Linked DNA regions of Homo sapiens: all the other regions are linked to region 2. Evidence: promoter capture Hi-C in 16 types of primary human blood cells and fetal thymus (Javierre and others, 2016). All regions are on one chromosome and are shown on one strand. The core of a region is centred on a gene start or on the middle of the fragment in contact, and the rest is flanking DNA. Distances in the headings are between cores, read along the strand shown.

Region 1 (2,700 bases), core at 46-2,545, 400 kb before region 2:
TAGAAAGAATGAATAAGCCCTAGTATTTGCAAGCACAACAGGGTGACTTTAGTAACAACAACAACAAAAAATCCAATCATACATTTTAAAATAACTGGAAGAGTATAACTGGTCTGTTTGAAACACAAAGGATAAATACTTGAGATGACAGATATCCATCTACCCTGGTGTGATTATTATGCATTGCGTGTCTGTATCAAAATAGCTCATGTAACCCAGAAATATATATGCCTACTATGTACCCACGAAAATTAAAAATGGCTCACATCTGTAATCCCAGTACTTTGGGAGGCCCAGGCAGGCGGATCACTTGATGCCAGGAGTTTGAGGCCATCATGGCCAACAGGATGAAACCTTGTCTCTACTAAAAATACAAAAATTAGCCAGGCATGGTGGTGCATGCCTGTAATTCCAGCTATTCATGAAGATTGCTTGAACCCGGAGGCGGAGGTTGCAGTGAGCCAAGATCACACCACTGCCTGGGTGACAGAGCGAGACTCTATCTCAAAACAATAAAAAATAAAAATTAAAATTAAAAATAAATTAGGCCAGGTTCGGTGGTTCACGCTTGTTAACCCAGCACTTTGGGAGGCAGAGGCGGGTGGATCACCTGAGGTCAGGAATTCAATACCAGCCTGCCCAACACAGTGAAACCCCGTCTCTACTAAAAATACAAAAATTAGCCGGGCGTGGTGGTGCACCCCTGTAATCCCAGCTACTCGGGCAGCTGAGGCAGGAGAATCACTTGAACCTGGGAGGCAGAGGTTGCAGTAAGCTGAGATCGGGCCACTGCACTCCAGCCTGGGCAACAGAGCAAGACTCCATCACAAATTAAAAAAAAATTAAACAAAATTTTTTAAATTTTTTAAATTTAAAGCTGCATAATTAAGATGAGAAGCAACAGTCAGACACCTTGGAGTAACTTCACATTTAAACAATTTGGTCAAAAGGTCTGCGTAAGTTTTTATTTTGCTTCAGGTTCAAATTGCTTATCAGCTGTAAAAAAAGGAAAAAGGAACAAACTCTAGACAGAAATTCTTAAAATCCAACATGTTGCACTAGACTATTTCAGACTTAATTTTTGTTTCCAAAAAATGGAAGACTAGCCATCAAAAACTCTAATTTAGGCCAGACATAGTGGCTCATGCTTGTAATCCTAGCAGTTTGGAAGGCCGAGGTGAGAGGTCTCTTGAGACCAGGTATTCAAGAGCAAACTGGGCAATATAGTGAGACCCTGTCTCTACAAAAAATAAAAATTAGCTGGGTGTCATGTCATACGCCTGCAGTCCTAGCTACTTGGGAGACTGAGGTAGAAGTATACCATGAGCCCAGGAGATCAAGACTGCAGTGAGCCACGATCCTACCACTGCACTCCAGCCTGGGCTACAGTGACACTGTCTCTTAAACACACACACACCCCTCTACCTTAGAAAAATGTGAGCGTAACACCACTCGTGAAGTAGTTCCCTCCTCCATACCCCAAATAAAACCGGAGTCTACTCAGTTCTCTAGAGATATCTATCAAGTCACCAAAGAATATATTACATGATGCTACAACAAGGCAATCAGCAAAATCTGGACTGGGGGGGAACTTTACAGGATAAATGATCGAGTTACTTCCACAGAAAATTACAAGGAAAAAAGATAAAAAGAAATTAAGTGGGAACCTATAGATATAACGTAGCAACTATTTGCTAAGCGTAGGTCTTATTAATAAAGAACTGTAATGTTGTTAATGGTTGTAGTTACGTATCTTTAATAATTTTATTAAGGCATACGTTTAAATTGGATAGTTCAGCAATTTCAAGTGTATAATTCAATGGTGCTTTTAGTAAATTTACCAAGTTGTACAACCATCACTAGATTATTCCCATAAGACCCTTCACGTACAATAATTGTTAGTCCACCTCGTCCCCAGCTCACCAGATTAACTTTCTGACACCACAGATTTGCCTTTTCTGAACCTTTCACATGGAATCATACAGTATGCAGTTTTGTGTGTCTAGCTCCTTTCACTTAGCACGTTTTGGTCACCTATGTTACAGCATGCTATCAGCAACTTGTTTTTATTGTTGAATAGTATTCAATTGTATGAACACAACATATTCATTCACCAGTTGATGGGCAGTTAGACTGTTTCCAATTTTGAGACATACTGTGAATAATGCTACTATAAACATTTGTGCATGACAATCATTGTGTCGGCAGATATGCAAGAGTAGAATTGCTGGGTCATTATGGCAAATTTATGTTTAACACTTTAAGGAAGTGACAAACTGTTTTCCAAAGTGGTTGCACCATTTTACATTTCCACCAGCTGTGTATGAGGGTTCCTGTTTGTGATTACACTTTTTGAGTATTTATACTTTAGGCATATACACAGAAATACTATGGGCTGGAATTTTATGATTGAGGGATCAAAATAACTGGTGGCGGGGGGAAATGGGTAGCTGTAATAGAGGAAACATATTTATGGTGATTAACCTTTGTTTTCTCTGGGTGGCAGAATATGAATGATTTTTATTTTTTTCCTTTTGTATAGTTGTATATTCTACTTTTATTACATTGATCAATATACACATGGCAGTGTCCAAGACTGACAGTGCAACAACTTGAACATTTCATGAACAGAAAATAATTGACTTGAACAGTAAGCTTTTTCAAGTTTTTAATTTTTTAAGGAAATTTTAAGATGTACAG
Region 2 (2,967 bases), core at 42-2,541:
ATGTCATGGTCATATAGTGGGCCTGGTTTGAACATGATTATATACTCATTCTTGATTTCCCAGCTCGGGTTTGAATCCCATCTTTGCGATTTTCTAGTTGCATGACTTGAATAAATTCTCGGACTTACCTGTGCTTCATTTTTCTCATCTGTTAAATGTGGAACACCTACCTTATAGGGCTGTTGTGAAAAGTACGCAAATAAATATAGGGTAAAGATCTAAGAACATGTGCCTGACACATATTAAATGTTCAATAAATGTCAGTAGTTATTATATATTGATGCTTTTTAAGATTAGCTACATTCAATACTCTATTAAATTCTGTGACCCAAAACACAAGTGGCAGGTAGTCTAACAAAACTGACATAATTCTTCACGACTCCAACCTTTCACTGCAGAAACTCCTTTTGTGGGCTTCCCACACTGTAGGAGCTGCCAGGGTGGAGGGGTTAATTTCATTTAGGAAGCTCTCCTTTTCCAAGAGTACATCACTCACAGTGTCCCATACACCCCATCAAGATACCTTTTCTATTATACCTTCATCCCCTACTTTCAAGAAACCAGTTTTCAACATTCTAAAACCTAAACCGATGCTTAAAACCTTGTTCATTTCACAGAAATCAATAACAGATAACTATGAGGCCTGCAAGAGTATATTATTTTTCTGGCTGCTATTTACTGCGTGTTTAAAGTGTACTTTGCATACGCTATATAATTTAATTCTCACAACAATCCTATGTAGTCAAATACAATCACTGTCAAGAAACTAACAAAAAGTCAGGTAACTGAACTTGGAGATTATGTTTGCATTTAAAGAGCGAAGGGTTCTAACTCTGACAGGCCAGATTCTAATTACAGGCACTACTTACTACTTTAAAGAATCCAGGAAATAACTTGCCTCAACACCTCTCTTAAAAACTTGAGCCCTGAGAAGTGAGGAACTGGATTTGCTATACAAGGAAAGAAAGGAATGGTGGCTTCTCTCGGCCGGAGCGGAAGCGCCTGCCAGTCAACCTCGGGGGTCGGCGACCGTCGCGTGGAACAGAGAGGGGCGCCAGCGACGCTTTCCCGCGTCCACGACTGGGGTGGGCAACAGGGCAGGGACAGGGCCGCCCACCTCCCCAGGCGCGCAGCGAGGCCAACTCACCTGCGTGGCCGCCAGCCGCGCCCGCACCTCTCGCATTACGAACGGCTCCAGGCCGCGACCCGCAGTGCAGAAGAATCGGGCGCCAGCCTCAGGCCCGGACCCTGGCTCTCCACGCGCCTCCGACATGGCGGCTCAGGCGCGCCCTCGCGCCTTCGGGTCACGTGGCCTCGGGCGCGAGCGGCTCGCTCCTGGAGGCGGCGCGCAGGGGCGTGTGATGCCAAAGGGGAGAGGGAGAGGGAGAGGGAGAGGGGGAGGGGGAGAGGGAGGGGGAAGGAGAGGGTGAGAGAGACGGAGAGCCTGGGAGGGTCGCATCAGCCCTCTGTGGCCCCTATGGGTCTTCCTGGTTGACCATCTGTCCCCTCCTTGATTAGGCACCAGAATGGGTTAGAATCACAGGTGGAAGGGTTAGAATTGATAATTCAGTCCAGTTGCCTTATTTTGTAGATTGAGGAAATTAATGCCCAGAGAGGTCAAGAGACAGCGAGTTAGCAGCACAGCTGAGGCTGGAGCCTAGATTTCTCCCTATCTAACATAATGCCTTTTCCTCCATTCCTCCCAACTCCGTCCTCTTCCTGTCCTTCATTCCTCTCCTCTACTCTTCTCATAGAAGGAGCCCTGGTCTGTTTTCACAAAGAATCGGGCCAAACGTTGGAATCTCCAGGACGGAGAGCAGAAGTTCCTGTTCTCTAACAAACGTCTGCGTTCTGAAACAGCTCATATTTCTTGCACTACTTAGTTAACCATCCAGCCATAGATGAATCAATGTGCCATCTAGTTTTGGGCACCTGATTTGAATGGTTCTCCTAACGGTATTTGAAGGCATTTTTCTAAACTCTGAATTTTAAAATGGAAATGAAAATATTACTTGGGAAGCATAGACAGAATCCATGTTACAAGATAAACAGCGTGAAATTAGCTCTGTAGCTGTATATTGAGTCAGTTATACAGAAATGATAAATGCATGTGTGTCTCTGACAAGGGGCTGTCCTGTGCTTCAGAATGGGATGTTAAGGTGAAGAACTGATACTCCCTCACCTCCCCCGACACTCCCACACACACCCCCGCCCCCACCCAGCTCATGCTCTACTGGGCCGTACAGTAAAAATTCTTCATGGAGTCACATAACATGAGCTTTTCCAAGGTTCAGTCCTAAGACTCTTCTGATGCTGCTTTTTATTTTTTATTTTTTGCGACAGGGTCTCCCTCTGTCGCCCAGGCTGGAGCGCAGTGACGTGATCTTGGCTCACTGCAGCCTCCACCTCCTGAGCTCCAGTAATCCTCCCACCTCAGCCTGTCCAGTAGCTGGGACCACAGGCAAGCCCCACCACACCGGGCTAATTTTTGTATTTTTTGTAGAGAAGGGGTTTCACCATGTTGGCCAGGCTGGTCTCGAACTCCTGAGATCAAGCGATCCGCCTGCCTCGGCCTCCCAAAGTGCTGGGATTACAGGCACCCAGCCCTCACACACTACCGTTTTGATGAATTCTTTTCTTGCCCTCAGACACATGTTTTCCTTTTCTGGGCTACTGCCGTAGTTCATTTTAACTTCTCTATACTTTGGGGTTCTGACTGTCAAGTCTGTCTGGGGAGGACAGGAACCCTCTTTAGTTCTCTCTACATTCTGTGCCCAAGATGTTAAGTATGCAGATAGGATGCATTCCATTCAGTTCAACAAATACTGAACACCTATTCTCCGCCAGTCACCACCCTGTCTTGAGGATTCAAAGATGGGTAAGCAAGGGTTTGGACTTCAAGGGCTTAGAGGATGGTGAAGTTGAATGACTCACTGAGGACATACCCGGGAAGCTATGACAGCACCG
Region 3 (2,707 bases), core at 80-2,579, 380 kb before region 2:
ATTTTCAATTTTCTCACACTCATTATTCAAAGAATCAGACACTCAAATATGCTACATTATAAAGGGCTCTGGAAAACACTATCAAATAATTCTTTCCATCTGTTTAGTTAAAAGGAGGGGGAGAAACTGAGATTTCAATTACTCTTCAAAATATTTTGATATGTATGCTTTATTTGAAGCCTGAAAGCTTCAGTATACAAAAGACTAGAGCTGTTAAAAAGTTCAGGATGATAGATACAGTATTCATTATGTAGAATATATGTATACTTAAATATTAAAATATCAGGAAAAGGGGAAGGGAAATACAGGTTTGGTTTTTGGGGTTTTTTGTTTGTCTGTTTGTTTTGAGACAAGATCTCACTCTGTTGCACCAGCTGGAATGTAGTGGCATCATCATAGCTCACTGCAGCCTCTTAACTCCTGGGCTCAAACAATCTTCCTGCCTCGGACTCCGGAGCAGTTGGAACTACAGGCATGCACCACCACACCTGGCTAATTTTTAAATTTTTTAATGTAGAAATGGGGTCTCACGATGTTGCTCAGGCTGGTCTCAAACTCCTGACCTCAAGTGATCCTCCCACCTCGACCTCATGAAGTGTTGGGATTATAGGTGAGCCACTGCACCCGGCCTACAAGTATTTGTATACCAATAGCTTAATATTCCATAGTCCACTTAGGTAAAATAAGATAAAAGACAATTCAGTTTACATTTCTGAACTTCTACCAATATCTTTTACTCAAGACAATGTGCTTTAACTTCAAGCCCCCAATTTTTTTTTTTTTTTTTTTTAAGCAGAGTCTCACTTTGTCGCCCAGGCTGGAGTGCAATGGCTTGGCTCATTGCAAGCTCCGCCTCCTGGGTTCACGCCATTCTCCTGCCTCAGCCTCCCAAGTAGCTGGGACTACAGGCGCCCGCCACTACGCCCGGCTAATTTTTCGTATTTTTAGTACAGACGGGGTTTCACCCTGTTAATCAGGATGGTCTCGATCTCCTGACCTTGTGATCCGCCCGCCTCGGCCTCCCAAAGTGCTGGGATTACAGACGTGAGCCACCGCGCCCAGCCCCAAATTTTTAACTTATGAAAGTTTTTCATAAAACCATTTTAGCAAAAATACTAGCCCAGAAACAGCATCTCTCTTCACCTCTTATAAGAGACCAAAGAGTCATTCTTACTATCTAAGGTAAATACATCTCAATTTAAGAGATCTATTACTTGATCTAAAAGACCATTTGCTTTTGAATCATTTAGTAGTATGTACTGACTATTACTGGACTTAGCTAAGTTGTAACACATACCAATAAGTGGCTGGATTTCACATCACCCCTGCCACAATAAATGACAACTTTTCATCAATTTAAAAACTTGAAATTTCAAGTCAAAATAAAGAAATGATTCTTTTTAAACTTGCTGAGGTTCATCATGCTACATATCTAAACCAGTAAAAATGGATAGTGTAATGTCTCTCAACCAAGACTTTGGTACTAAAAAAAAATCCTATATAGTACTCACCAACTCCATAAAATGTGCTTTAAAACAATATTAAGAATTAGTGACTACAAACATAAGAGAATTCAGTAAGATAGTAACCTATGAAAAGAATATACAAAGATCAATAATCTTCATATATACAACATATTATAATACAAACAACAGCAAAAATAAAGACTTCATTTCCAATAGCAACTAAATATTTGTATATTTTCACTTAATCACAAATGTGCAAACTTAAAGAAAACTTCAAAAACCTTTAAAGAAATGAAAGTAGAATTGAATGAAGAGAAAGTTATAATCATATTCTTAGAGAGGCTAAACATCATAAAGGTATCAACTCTTCTTAAGATATTAAAATTCATACAAACCCAATAAAAGTATCAATTTTTTTCCTCCAGGAACTAGAAAGGCTGATTCTAAAGATCTTATTGAAAAATAAACAAGCAGTAATTGCCAGGAAAACTCTGAAAATGAAGAGCAATGAGAAAACAGCTCTAACAATATAACTTTATATGGCCTCAAGAACTAAAAGTATACGAGTGGCAAATGAATAGACAGACCAGTGGGACAAAATACAAAGTCCGGAAATACACCCATATAAAGAATTCTTAGAAACAGAGGAGATAATCCAATGAAAAAATGGACAAGTATGTGAAAAAGAAAAGAAATACAAATGGCCCTTGAATATATGATAAGCTGAAAACAGAAATGCAAACAAAAAATATACAGTGAGATAGTGTTTCTTATCAGATTGGCAAAATCTGATTTAAGTCCAACCACTTGTCAAGCTGTAGGGAAAGGGGGGGCATTCCAAGGACCCTCATATATTGCTGCTGAAATGCAAAATGCAAGATATATATACAGGGAATCCAATAATATCAATCAAAATTACAGACGCATGTACCCTTTCACCTAGCAAACACCCTTCTAGGAAACGAAACCATCACGAAACCTACATACATAAGAAATACACATGTACAAGCTTAATCAGTATGAAATTGCCTGTTAATAGCAAAAGACTGAACAAATTCAAGTGCAAAAGGACTGGCTGAATTAACTACAGCATATACCAACAAACGAATACTATATAGTAAAAAAAGAAAAAAAAAGATAAGGAAGGTCTTTATATACTGACTGATATAACGAGAGAGCTCCATGGAATAAAAATAAAGAAACCAGGGTGCAAAGTATTAGTGTGAATTAGCCTTTTGCAT

The links. Contacts are between HindIII fragments. The CHiCAGO score rates a contact against its expected background, and 5 or more counts as called.
Region 1: a fragment that was not itself captured here is called in contact with the fragment with the promoter of THUMPD2 in region 2 in 2 of 17 cell types (naive B cells and erythroblasts); the score reaches 6.5 in naive B cells.
Region 3: a fragment that was not itself captured here is called in contact with the fragment with the promoter of THUMPD2 in region 2 in 1 of 17 cell types (total B cells); the score reaches 5.1 in total B cells.

What each region holds. Positions count from the first base shown.
Region 1 is chr2:39,373,854-39,376,553 of GRCh38, forward strand. The region is part of intron 2 of MAP4K3 (mitogen-activated protein kinase kinase kinase kinase 3); the gene reads right to left. Among named protein-coding and RNA genes, the nearest start is that of MAP4K3, 62 kb to the right of the region's middle. The HindIII fragment of the contact is 2,715 bases long and covers 1-2,653 here.
Region 2 is chr2:39,777,967-39,780,933 of GRCh38, forward strand. It overlaps THUMPD2 (THUMP domain 2 tRNA and snRNA guanosine methyltransferase), which reads right to left and starts at 1,292. Exons shown (of 10, transcript NM_025264.5): 1 at 1,148-1,292. The coding sequence starts at 1,273. The HindIII fragment of the contact is 5,327 bases long and covers 1-2,967 here.
Region 3 is chr2:39,395,709-39,398,415 of GRCh38, forward strand. All of the region lies in intron 1 of MAP4K3 (mitogen-activated protein kinase kinase kinase kinase 3), which reads right to left. Among named protein-coding and RNA genes, the nearest start is that of MAP4K3, 40 kb to the right of the region's middle. The HindIII fragment of the contact is 2,288 bases long and covers 186-2,473 here.